4 separate regions of the Homo sapiens genome follow, and all the other regions are linked to region 3. Evidence: promoter capture Hi-C in 16 types of primary human blood cells and fetal thymus (Javierre and others, 2016). All regions are on one chromosome and are shown on one strand. The core of a region is centred on a gene start or on the middle of the fragment in contact, and the rest is flanking DNA. Distances in the headings are between cores, read along the strand shown.

Region 1 (2,895 bases), core at 142-2,641, 760 kb after region 3:
ACCCCATGTTTACTGCTAGAAACCAAAGCTTTATGTGAAATCTTGAATTTAGGGGCAGGGAGGGAGGGTAGAAAGGCTTGTACCTTCCCTGATCCCTGCCCCTCAGTCCTGAACTGCAGGAGACCAGGGCCCCTTGGGCTTTGGTTACTCCATCTCTGGGGTGCATCTATTGGATGGCTGATTTTTCTGTACCAGGTACTTCCTTTCCCATTTTCTAATCACTTTGCAACACACATGCTGACCCTTTTCACTTCCCTTCTCCTTTCCCTGGAAAGATATAATGAATACATAAAGACTTACTGGTACTGAAACTCAAAAAAAAAAAAAGATAAAAAAGATCTGACAATGAGTGATGCTAAACATTACTCACCAGGGTAATGTTTAAAAAGGGTCACCAGAGATGGCAGGGCTGCCTATAACAGGTGACGAGATGGCTAAGAAGGCTCAAGCAAGACTCTGGCCAGAAAGAGGAGCTCCTCCCAGCCAGAAGAACCTCAGAAGGGTTAAGTGGCAACAACTTCAAGTCCATCTCGCAAGAACTTTCAGCCACCAATAAATCCAAGAACTGAAGGCCTACTGCAAGGTGGCGCTTGTGTAGGGGCTAGGTAAAGCTGCAAAGGAAACACAGGCTGCTGTCCTGGGCCCACAACTGCTCTTGGATGTCACACTGGAGGGGACTTAACTCTCACTTCATGATTGAGGAAACTGCAACCCCAGAGTGTGAACATCCAGGCCTCCAGAGGCCATCTGCAGAACGGGGTCACCCTCCAAAGTATTTTTTTTTTTTTTTTTTCAGACTGGGTCTTGCTCTGTCACCCAGGCTGGAGTACAGTGGCATGATCTACCTTGTTGCAACCTCTGCCTCCTGGGCTCAAGTAATCCTCCCAAACTCAGCCTCCCAAGTAGCTGGGACTTCAGATGTGCACCACCACACCCAGCTAATTTTTGTGTTTTCTGTAGAGACGGGATTTCACCATGTTGCCCAAGCTGGTCTTGAACTCCTGGGATCAAGCAATCCCCCTGCCTCAGCCTCCCAAAGTATTGGGATTACAGGTGTGAGCCACTGCACCCAGCACACCCCAAAATCTTCATCTTAAGACCTACCCAGTTACCCCAGGACACCAATCTTGTTCTGTTTCCCAATTAGCTTTGTCTCATCATAAATGCTATACTCTGCAGATACTCTTGATTCACTCAATCATTTAACAGAAATTCATCAAATGTCTACTATGAGCCAGCACTCTGCCTTCAAGATATGAACAGAGGAGAGTAGCTGCCTGGCTGGCACTTGGGGCTCAGGATGAGACGACAACCTAGAAATGGGCTCATCATTAGACCAGGGGGAAAGTGGGGTATGGTGCTATGAGGCGGGGAGGGATCCCTGGGGGGCCCCCGGGCTGACCTACTGAGAAACAGGGTCTATTACACTGAAGAGCTTAGACCCGTCTTGCAAGGTGTTGTTTACCTTAGGCTATTGCTTCACAATCTTCAACCCTCGCAGGCCCGTCAGGTAGATCTGGGATTTTGTGTCATCACTGGTACAACAGTGACACCACCATGTTCTCTTCCACAGAAGTACTTTAGGATGACAGTGCAGCTGGCACTGTTGAGAGCCAACCTTGAATCCAAATGAATCTAAAACGTAAATTTTAAAAAGAAAGTCATTGATAAATTTCAGTACTTTATAACTAAGAAGTTACTTGTGGCCAGGTGTGGTGGCTCACGCCTGTAATCCTAGCACTTTGGGAAGCCAAGGTGGGTGGACTGCTTTGAACTCAGGGGGTTGAGACCAGCTTGGGCAAGATGGCGAAACCTTGTCTTTACAAAAAAAATACAAAAAAATCAGCCAGCTGTGATGGCCTGTGCCTGTGGTCCCAGCTTCTTGGCAGTCTGAGGCAGGAAGATGGCTTGAGCAGGGAAGTGGAGATTGCAGTGAGCCGTGATTGCACCACTGCATTCCAGCCTGAGCAACAGAGCCAGACCCTGTCTCAAAAAAAAGAAGTTACTTGTGACACACATCACCACAGCTGACAACACATTGGAGGCCTACAACCACAACAAGACAAGATTCCAAGGGCTTCTAAGCTGAAGCACGGCCTTTTGGGCTGCACGCCTGCCCATAGTCGATCATGTGGGCAGCAGTCAGGAAAGCGCCCTAGCCAGGCCACATGGGAAGCAGGCACATCCCTGGGAGGCAAAAGGGAAAGCGGGCCAGGCCGGGGTGACGGCAGGGCGGGGTGATGGCACAATGCATGGAGGAGACTGTGGGGAGAGCTGTTCAGGAGGTGGCCCATGCCTAAGCCTCAAGTGGAAGAGGAGGAATGATGGAGAGCGCCTCCACAGTGAGCCTCTTTCCTCATACAGGTCCATGTGGGCTATTTTGGGGCAAATCTTCAGGCAAGTTTCTAGAGAAACTGAAGGAAAACACCAGAGGGGGCTGCCCAGGTAATGCTGACAATACAGGGAGGTGAGAGGATGAGCAGATCTCAAAGGTGACTGAGAGGCAGAGGGGAGAGACAAGGAAAAACCAAAGTAAAGTGAAGTTAGGGAAACCAAGAAAAGACTTTCCAAAAGCAGTGGTCAGCGGGGTCAAAGGTCCCTTCAGTGGGCGGTACAGCAGGAAGTGGGGGAGAAGCAGGAACCGGGAATGCTGGAGGTGGGGATGGGAGGGAAAAGGCTTGGCTCTGTCCCTAAACAGAGAGAAGGTGACCTGGGAAGAGCGGGGAGGCTAACTACACAGGGAAGAGAAGCTTCCTGGAGAAAGGGATCCAGGGCACAGGCGGTGGAAGGGATTGGCCTCAAGAGACCAGGAAGAACTCTCATTTTTCCTGACAGAGAAAGTAGGATGGGTCTGGTAGCAGGCAAGTCCTGGAGTGCTGTGCAGAAGGGAAGTGA
Region 2 (2,776 bases), core at 14-2,513, 660 kb after region 3:
AAGGAGTCGGACACAGGAGCAGCAAAGTGCAGGCTGCCCACTGCATCTGCACCAAGGGGAAGGCACGGTCTCTGCAGGCAGCTGCCTCGTACCCCAGCAGCTGCACGTTGCTGCCAGCGCCTGGGGACCGCTGCCTCAGATGGAGAAGCTGGAACTCAGATCCTAGACTATTCCCCTGGGGGAATGCGATGATGGTTTCCAAACTTCACAGGTGCAGGCACGGTTCAAACCTCTGCTTTGCCCTTCCTAACTGCCTGAACTTGAGCAAGTGACCTCCACCCCCAAGTACTTCAGGTTCCTGATCTATAGAAGGAAGATCGTAACGATAATGGTCTTGTGGAGTAGGATGAGGATTAAATAATCTCTCTCCAGTGGGGACTGTTTATTATCTCACACCCCATGTACCCCAGGGACAGAAAATGGGGTTAGGGGGCAGGGCGTGGTGGTGCACACCTGTGGTCCCAGCTGCTCTGGAGGCTGAAGCAGGAGGATCGCTTGAGCCCAGGAGGTCGAGGCTGCAGTGAGCCATGATTGCACCACTGCACTCCAGCCTGGGTGACCAAGGGAGACCCTGTCTCCAAAAAAATAATGCGGTTAGAGTTAGCATCTCCCTTGCTCCTTGGCTTTCAGGCCATACCTCTTCTCCCTTTTGAGAACTAGTCGGCCTCTTCGAGTGTTAGCTGCTGGTCTCTTCCCTTCGTGCTTTGGGGTATGGGCGTCCAGCTCAGTCCCCCCGCCGTCCCCAGGCTTTGTCCCAGGACATGCCGGGTGTATTTGTTCTCCATTGCTGCATAATAAACCACCACAAAAAGTGGCTTGAACAACACAGACTTACTCTCTTAGCGTTCTGGAAGTCCAGAGTCTGAAATGAACCTACAGGGCTAAAATCAAGGTGTCCACAGGGCAGGTTCCTTCTGGAGGCTCCAAGGGAGAATCTCACTGTTCCATGTCTCCTTCAGCATGAGACAGAGAGAGAAAGAGGGAGAGGTGGGGGGTTGGTGAGGTAGAAGGTGCCACACACTTTTAAATGACCAGATCTCATGTGAACTCAGAGCAAGAGCTCACTCATCACCAGGAGGATGGCCCAAGCCATTCATGAGAGATCTGCCCCCATGGCCCAAACACCTCCCACCAGGCACTTCTAACACTGCAGATTACATTTCATTCAACATGAGATTTGGGCAGGGACAAATATCCAAACTATATCAGCTATTAAAGTCCCCAAACCTTCCCTTTAGCTTCCAGTTGCTTTCCTTTGGCTTCTGGGGCAGCCTGCAGAGGGCAAGTGCCTTCGCTCTGAGAGCAGCTGAGTAAGGACACTGCCTTCTCTGACTATATTGAGTACCAGCCCCCCATTCACCAGGCATCCGACTCTCTGCCTCCAAACAATTGCTTTATGCAGGTCCAGGGGCTGGGCCTGGCTATTCTATGCCATCCTTGGGAGTCCTTCCCATCGTCAAGGATTTTCTGAAAGGTCAAGCCTGGCTGCACTGGAGAAGGGAATGTGGAAGCCACAGCCCCTCGTAGCCGGCAGCCTGGGCAGCAACTGGAGGAGGTGGAGCATTTTCCTCTCCCTGTGGGGCTGAGGAATGTGCAGAAAATGGGTCTGCGGGTTCTTTCCAGGTTGCTCAGGAAGGGGTCTAGGGATGTATCTGAGGGGACAAGGGTTTGGGTAGGGACCCAGGCCAGGACTCCAAAGCCCCAGTGCCTTGGCCCTGAGAGCTTGCCTGCCAGTGATTTCTACCTTGGCTGGAATGCACTTTGCCATTTCCTCTGTAGACACTTCCTTGGGCAGATGCGGCCATCTGGTCTACTCCACAGGAGGTGGGAGTGACAGCAGCAAATAAAGAAGACAGGAAGAAGGCGGCCAAGGGCTGCGTGAGTGAACACAAACAGCAGGAGGGCACTTTGCCCAGTGTGGCTTCTGAATCATGCCTCTGAAAGTCCCTGTGTGTGCACACAGCTGTGGGCAGTGCTTACGTTTCTGTGCATGTGTCTGTGGAGAGTGTGGTTGGGGGTCGGAGGGGGTACCTGTGAATTCCTTAGAGAATCCTAGAGGGTGGGACTCTACGGGACCTGCAAGCAAGTCCAGTGGGTTCCAAATGTTTTCTGCAGGTTCTAGTGGGGGCCCCCGGACACCTAAGGGGTGGGCCCAGCAGACAAGGTTGCTGGGGAGAGGGAGACCCATCCCATGCTGTAGCTGGAACACTCCTGGGGTGATCCATGGGTCTTCCTAGTGATATTTTGAAAAAATAAGATTTTACTTTCATTAAAAAAAAAACAAATCTTTGGAAGTAGTGACTTCCCATCTAACCTCCTCATTCTTCAGTGAAGAAACTGTAGCCCCCAGAAAGGAAGTGACTTCCCCAAGGTCGTGAAGGAACCAGCTGGGGGAGAGTCTCAGGCCTCCTGACTCCAAAGTGGGTGCCATCCACAGTTTATCTTGCATCTCTCGGCCTGCAGGGCTGTGGAGGTACAGGCGGCTGGAGGGTGCACTCTGCCCAGCCTCACCCCGGTGAGGACCAAGTGTCCCGGTTCTGAGGAACACAAGGCAAGGCCTCCCTCTTCTAAAGTCTCTTCTTGTTTCCTGACCTGCCGCACTAGTCAGGCCTCTGGTGAAAGGCGTTTGAGGCCCTCAGCACCCTCACGTGACGTGGGAGCCCCAATACGCATGGAGCTGTTGGCACCACTTTGCCACTGCTTGGCCTGGAGAAGTTCTCATTAGCCCTACAGGGACATGGGACAGCGGGATACGTAAGTTGTGGTGGATGGAGGA
Region 3 (2,700 bases), core at 5-2,504:
AGCACCCGGCTGCCCAGCAGCTGCCTCCAGACCGAGGAGCCGCGGATCCCCGTCAGGCTCATGACCCGGCCAAAGCGCGGATGGACCTGCCGGCGCCTCCCACGCGGTCGCTGAGCCTCAGCCCAGCGCCAGGCCCGGCCCGCTCCCGCTTGGCCGCCGCGGCGTAGGGGGTGTGCGTCGGGAGAGGGCGCCGCGGCGAGCGCCACCCTCCGGGCCTGCGGGCGCTGGGCCCGGGAAGGCTGCCATCCACTAACGCGAGGCTCCGATCCCCCGCCCCACTGCGGAGCAGGGCCCGGGCAGCGGCTAAGAAGCCTCCCCGGTCACGACCCCACCTCCCCGCAGCTGAAGCCCTCTGCCGCGCCCACCTTCCCCGGCCAGGCCTGGACAGATCTGGTCCCGGCCCCCCCAAGCGACACCACCTTCGCGCCCTGGAACACAGTCAGCAGAAAACCCCCAACCCCAAAGTGTCCCCGAACGAGATATGGCGAAGCTGCCCGCCGGTTCTGCAACACAGATCGGCAAACCTCGTGGCCTGGTCCTCAAGCGCGCAAGGACCCCCGACAGGGAGAGCATGGCCAGGCACGGCCTGTGGAGCCCTCGGCCGGCGCCGGAGAGGCCACTGCGCCCCGGCTCCCGCAGCCCCCGGCTCCGCTCACCCTCGATGGAGATGACGTGCTCCCGGATCTGGTTCTGCAGCGCCAAATCCTCGATGCGCTCGATCAGGTCGTAGATGGCGTAGATATTGGGATGCACGGACTCGAAGCGCTGGATCTCGGCCCGGATGGCCGCGGAGTTGGAGAGCGCGAACTGCTGGGGGGGCCCGCCGGCCAGCTGCTGCGAGGGGCCGCCGCCGCCCCCGGCCCCGGGCCCCGCGCCGCCGAACTGCCCGCCGCAGACGAGCTGCTGCGCGGCAGCGCCGCCGCCCCCCGGAGCCGCCAGGCTCTGCTGCTGCTGCGGGCTCTGCCCCCCGCCCGCCTGGAAGTTCATGGCTTCGGAGCCGTGGGGCCCGAGGCGGGCCCGGGGCGGCGCGGCGGAGGCGGCGGCGGCGGCGGCGGCGGCAGCGGCGAGCGGGAGCGCGGGGCTGGCGGGGCCGGGACTACTGGGCTGGCGGCGCGGGGCTAGCGCATGGAGCCGGGGGCCGGGGGCCGGAGGCCGAGGCCAGGAGGCGCCGCCGCGCACGCTGTGGCCGCCGCTGCCGAGCGCTTCCCAGCGCCGTGATCCCGCTGCCTCGGAGCAGCCTCCAGCGGCAACAACAACGGGACCGGGAGCGCGCGGCCCAGGCCCTCCCCCCGCGTCATGCGCACGCACCGCCGCCCCCGCCGGCTCCGGCACACGCAGCCCGAGCCCCCCTCCCCGCCGCCCCCGCCCCTCCTGCGCGCCGGCCCGGGCGCCCCCGCCCCTCGCTCGCTCGCTGGCTCTGCAGCCTCCACCCCCGAGCCGCGCGCTCCAGCCCTGGCGCCCCGGCCCCTCCCACTCAGCCTCGGCCCTTCCGCCTCCTCACCAGCCCCCACCCGCATTGCCTCGAGGGCCACCCTCGCGGAGGGGACAGCTGCCCTGGTCTCCTCCCGCGCCCGGCTGTCGCTTTCGCCTCCCTGCGCTGATCTGGGCGGGGTGTCGGATCTCTAGGCAATGCCCAAACAGTGCCCTGCGCCTGAGGGTGCTGCTGACCGAGGCTGATTGGCCGAGGAGTCCGCCCAGGCCCAGCTGCTCCTCGCTTACAGCGTCCCGCCTTCAGTGCGGCATAGGCTCCCCTGTCCCCAGGCTCCGAGGTCAGCCCTAGAGACCACCCTGCTGCCGGAGTTTTCTCCCTGTCTCCCTGCCCAGGCTCTCCACTGCCGGCTGCAGCAGTGCTCTCCTAAAAGACCCTCCCCCTGCCGGACTTGGGAGATTAGCTAAATGCTACCCGACCCCATTGGTACATAGAGGAAGAAGAGGGAGGGATGAAATAGTATATGCCTTTCTCCCCTACTCATCCCATTGGAGAGACCAACCAAAGCCCACGTGGCTCTCAATTTTTCTTGTCCTCACCCCTTGTCCATCCTGTCCTTTCACTCCCTCTAGGGCCAGGGAGCTCCCTGAAATGTCCCAGTTCCTCTGCAGTCCCATTGCCAAAGTGGGCTGCAGTTCTGTTAGCCCCCTCCCCCCCACCAACACACACACGTTTCCTAAAACCTACAAGAGGTGACATTTGCAGAGGCCGCAGCCAATAAATCTGCCAGAGATGTTGCAGGGTATCTGCTACCCCCAGATATCCTAGGGCATCAGTGACACACATCGTCCTTCTTACGCACACTTCCACTTCCCTGGCCAAGCTGGATCTTTTCCCAGCATGAAGCTGTCCACTGTTTGATTACCCACACAACTCAGCCCCAGAACCAACCCAGTCACTATTCCCGAGTTCCTTGTACCTTCCAAAGCACCTGGTGCAAGCTAATCAACACACAGGGTCTCCTAAGCTCCTGAGGAACCTGTGTTTCTATCTCCCTGCATAAGCTTAAGGATATCTTGTGCCCTCTCTGGGTTTCATCTGCGAAATATAGTGGTTGAACATAAAACCTAGTTCTGATGTTGTATAATTCTAAAAGTAACATCCAACATCTCTTTTAGGTGCTTAATTAGAATTGACAGCAGGAAGTAGCACCAGGTATACCTCCCAAGAGAGACACTAAGAGCAAAGAGCTCCTCAAATGTGTTGCCCCA
Region 4 (2,771 bases), core at 182-2,681, 680 kb after region 3:
CCCTGCCCCAGCTCCTATCACATGGCCCCAAATCCTCCCTGCTCCATCGTCCACTTTTTAAGCAGTGAAGCTAAAAGGTTCTGGGATTCAGAATCCAAAACAAAGCCCTGGCTTCCACCTGTTGTACCCCTAAGTACCAACTGTGGTGTAGGCAAGCTTGGCAAACCTGTTTCCTCATCTGCCAAAAGGCTGAAGAGGCCCGTGCCTCAGAGCGCCAGCTTGGAACCAGAGGTCCTGGAGCAGAGTCCTGGCTGCCCCCTTTCTCACTGCCAGACCTTGGCCAGGCCTCTTAGCTGGGGGCCTTATGTTCTCTTGCCCAGATGACCCAAGCCCCTCGAGGCTCCAGCTCTTCCCACATCAGTCTGTCCTCACAGTGCCTCTGATTCTCCTCCTAAAGCATAAGTCTGAGATCATAGCACTCATCTCATTAAAAATCTCAGTGTCCCCACCCCCTGACCACGAAGTCCTTTGTAGGGCAAACCTCCCCTTGGGACACCTGGAGACAGTCACTGAACTATCAGGACCCCCCCTCCCTTGAAAACACCCTTCTACACACTTGCTCTTCCTAGAACAATTTTATTTGTCCCCATGACCTGGTTCAAAGCCATCAAACTCCCCTGGGTGACGAAGAGAAACCAGTCACCCTCCTCGGTCTCACCCCAGAGCACTTTGTAGGTTGGCCCCGCGTCACACACCGAGTGTGAGCACCCCGTGTCAGGGCCTGCGGTCCTCATGTGTGTCTCTGGGAGAGCCCAGCCCGGCACAGTCAGTGGCACATGGTGTGGCAGAATCAACTAAGGCTCTGTGCACCAGTGACCTCACCCTCTCTCATCCAGTAGCTGCAATATATCCCAGCGAGGAAGAGTCCCTCATCTATATCCCCAACTTACAGATGAGTAAACTGAAACATGAAGTGAAATGACATCTCAAGGACAGCAGAGAGTGTGTACAGGAGCCAGGAGGCCTAGGGGCTGAGGTTGGGCGTGGGGTTTGTGGAAAGTGGCCTCTCCAAGTCTCTTTCAACTCTGACATTCTGGGGATGAAGATCCGGTAAGCAGCTCATCACAGAGAAACCTACAGCCCGGTACCCAGACCGCCCCACCTGCCATCAAGAATCAACACCACGCACTCCACCCCCACCACTCCCAGCCCTGAGAGGGGCTCTGGCCAGCCCCGCAGGTCTCACCTGCTCTAGGCCGGATGGGCCAGAGAAGGAGAACCATGGCAGGAGCCGGAAGCAGCTGTGCGCAGCCAGCCAGAGGGTCCCGAGGGAGGAACGCGAGCGGGCGGCCGGAGCCTGGCGGCGGCCCACACCTTCAAGAGCCCAAGCCAGCGCTGCCCCTCTCCCGGGATCCCATCTAGAGAGGGAGCTGCGGCCCAGGGCCATCTCCAGGGGTCGGGGACGCACGTGCGGGGCGGGAAGCAGCCGTCGGCAGCAGGCCCCGGGCGCATCATAGCACGCGTCCTAAGTGGGCCGCCTGGCCCTCGGGCCCGTGGCCGTGGCTGCGCTGATGGGTCTTGAGCGAGCCCTCGCGCGCGAAGCTCTTGCCGCAGCGGGGGCAGAAGTAGGGCCGCCGCTCCCCGAAGACGCCGGGGCGGCGCGGGTGCGGCGCGGGCATGCGCGCGTGGGTGCGCTGGTGGTTGAGCAGGAAGCGCGGCTCGCGGAAGCAGCGGCCGCACTGCGCGCACTGGTGCGGCTTCTCGCCGCTGTGGATGCGCTGGTGCGTGAGCAGGTTCTGCTTGAGGCTGAAGCAGCGGCCGCACTCGGGGCAGGGGAAGGGCCGCTCCCCGGTGTGCGTGCGCTGGTGCACCTCGAGGTTGTGCTTGACGCTGAAGGCCTTGCCGCACTCGGGACACACGAAGGCAGCCGCGCGGCCCGCTCCGGCGTGCGCCTTCTGGTGCCGCACCAGGCTGGGCTGCTGCGAGAAGGTCTGGCCGCACAGCGGGCAGCGGTAGGGCTGCTCCTCTGCAGGGTGGTGGATGACCAGGCCTCGCTCGTCCCCCAGACCCTCCTCCCCGTCCCCCGCAGGGGACCCGCCCCCGGAGGACGCCAGCTCGGTCATGGGCACTTCCAGCTGCAATCACCAGTCCCTAGGGAGACAGAAGCGGGGGCGGGGGTGGGGGGTGGAGAGAGAGGGGTCGGGGAACACGAGGGTTAGCCAACCCCCAGCCTGGCAGGGACACTCACCTCCCACAACCTCCACCTTTCGCCCCGTTTTGTTCAAGCTCAAGTTCCCCTGCTGGGAATTGGTGTTCCTCTTCCTCCACTGCCTTTTAAGCACGGCCTACACTCCTTCCAGTCCCTTCCCAAGGGCACCTTCTCCTAGAAGCCTTCCCTGACCTTTCCACCCCGGGCTTAAACACCGTGTGACACAACCATGTGGCTCTCACTGATCATACTGCACGAGGGTCAGTCATGCCACCTCTGTCCCCCGACTCCCAGCACCCTAAGGACAGAGCTGCCTTCTTTCAACCCCAGCACCTAGCACCATGCCAGCCAGCCACACAAGACACTAGACAGATGGTGATGAGTTTCAGTTAGGATTTTCAGTTTCAGTTTCAGCTAGGATTTTCAGTTACCTTCGTCTAGATATGTCTTATCCCTCCAACCAGATCTCAAGGACAGGGGGAGGTAGGGAAGTGCACCCCAAACTTGGAGAAAAGGGTGGCATTATCAGTGATTTAAAGATATTTTTGTGAAGCTTAAAACAGGAAAAAAAACACAACCCTGTAAACTTGAAAGTGACCTCGGTTAAACATTAAAGGCGGCA

Evidence for each region. Contacts are between HindIII fragments. The CHiCAGO score rates a contact against its expected background, and 5 or more counts as called.
Region 1: a contact is called between a fragment that was not itself captured here and the fragment with the promoter of AGAP3 in region 3, in 2 of 17 cell types (fetal thymus and non-activated CD4 T cells). The highest score is 6.2, in fetal thymus.
Region 2: a fragment that was not itself captured here is called in contact with the fragment with the promoter of AGAP3 in region 3 in 2 of 17 cell types (naive B cells and total B cells); the score reaches 5.1 in naive B cells.
Region 4: a fragment that was not itself captured here is called in contact with the fragment with the promoter of AGAP3 in region 3 in 4 of 17 cell types (naive CD4 T cells, erythroblasts, naive B cells and 1 more); the score reaches 7.1 in naive CD4 T cells.

Annotation. Positions count from the first base shown.
Region 1 is chr7:150,324,581-150,327,475 of GRCh38, reverse strand. It overlaps LRRC61 (leucine rich repeat containing 61), which reads right to left. Exons shown (of 3, transcript NM_001142928.2): 2 at 1,466-1,635. Among named protein-coding and RNA genes, the nearest start is that of ACTR3C, 2.5 kb to the right of the region's middle. The HindIII fragment of the contact is 2,722 bases long and covers 31-2,752 here.
Region 2 is chr7:150,427,984-150,430,759 of GRCh38, reverse strand. No RefSeq gene overlaps it. Among named protein-coding and RNA genes, the nearest start is that of LINC00996, 4.3 kb to the left of the region's middle. RefSeq lists an enhancer at 1,765-1,934. The HindIII fragment of the contact is 4,508 bases long and covers 1-2,776 here.
Region 3 is chr7:151,085,029-151,087,728 of GRCh38, reverse strand. AGAP3 (ArfGAP with GTPase domain, ankyrin repeat and PH domain 3) reads right to left here and starts at 1,254. Exons shown (of 18, transcript NM_031946.7): 1 at 657-1,254. The coding sequence starts at 987. RefSeq lists silencers at 79-348, 709-778, 1,145-1,234, 1,285-1,534. The HindIII fragment of the contact is 3,352 bases long and covers 1-2,495 here.
Region 4 is chr7:150,406,904-150,409,674 of GRCh38, reverse strand. LOC728743 (zinc finger domain-containing protein LOC728743) reads right to left here. Exons shown (of 3, transcript NM_001395976.1): 2 at 1,187-2,091. The coding sequence starts at 2,063. The coding sequence ends at 1,452. Among named protein-coding and RNA genes, the nearest start is that of ZNF775-AS1, 24 kb to the right of the region's middle. RefSeq lists an enhancer at 2,677-2,726. The HindIII fragment of the contact is 2,546 bases long and covers 159-2,704 here.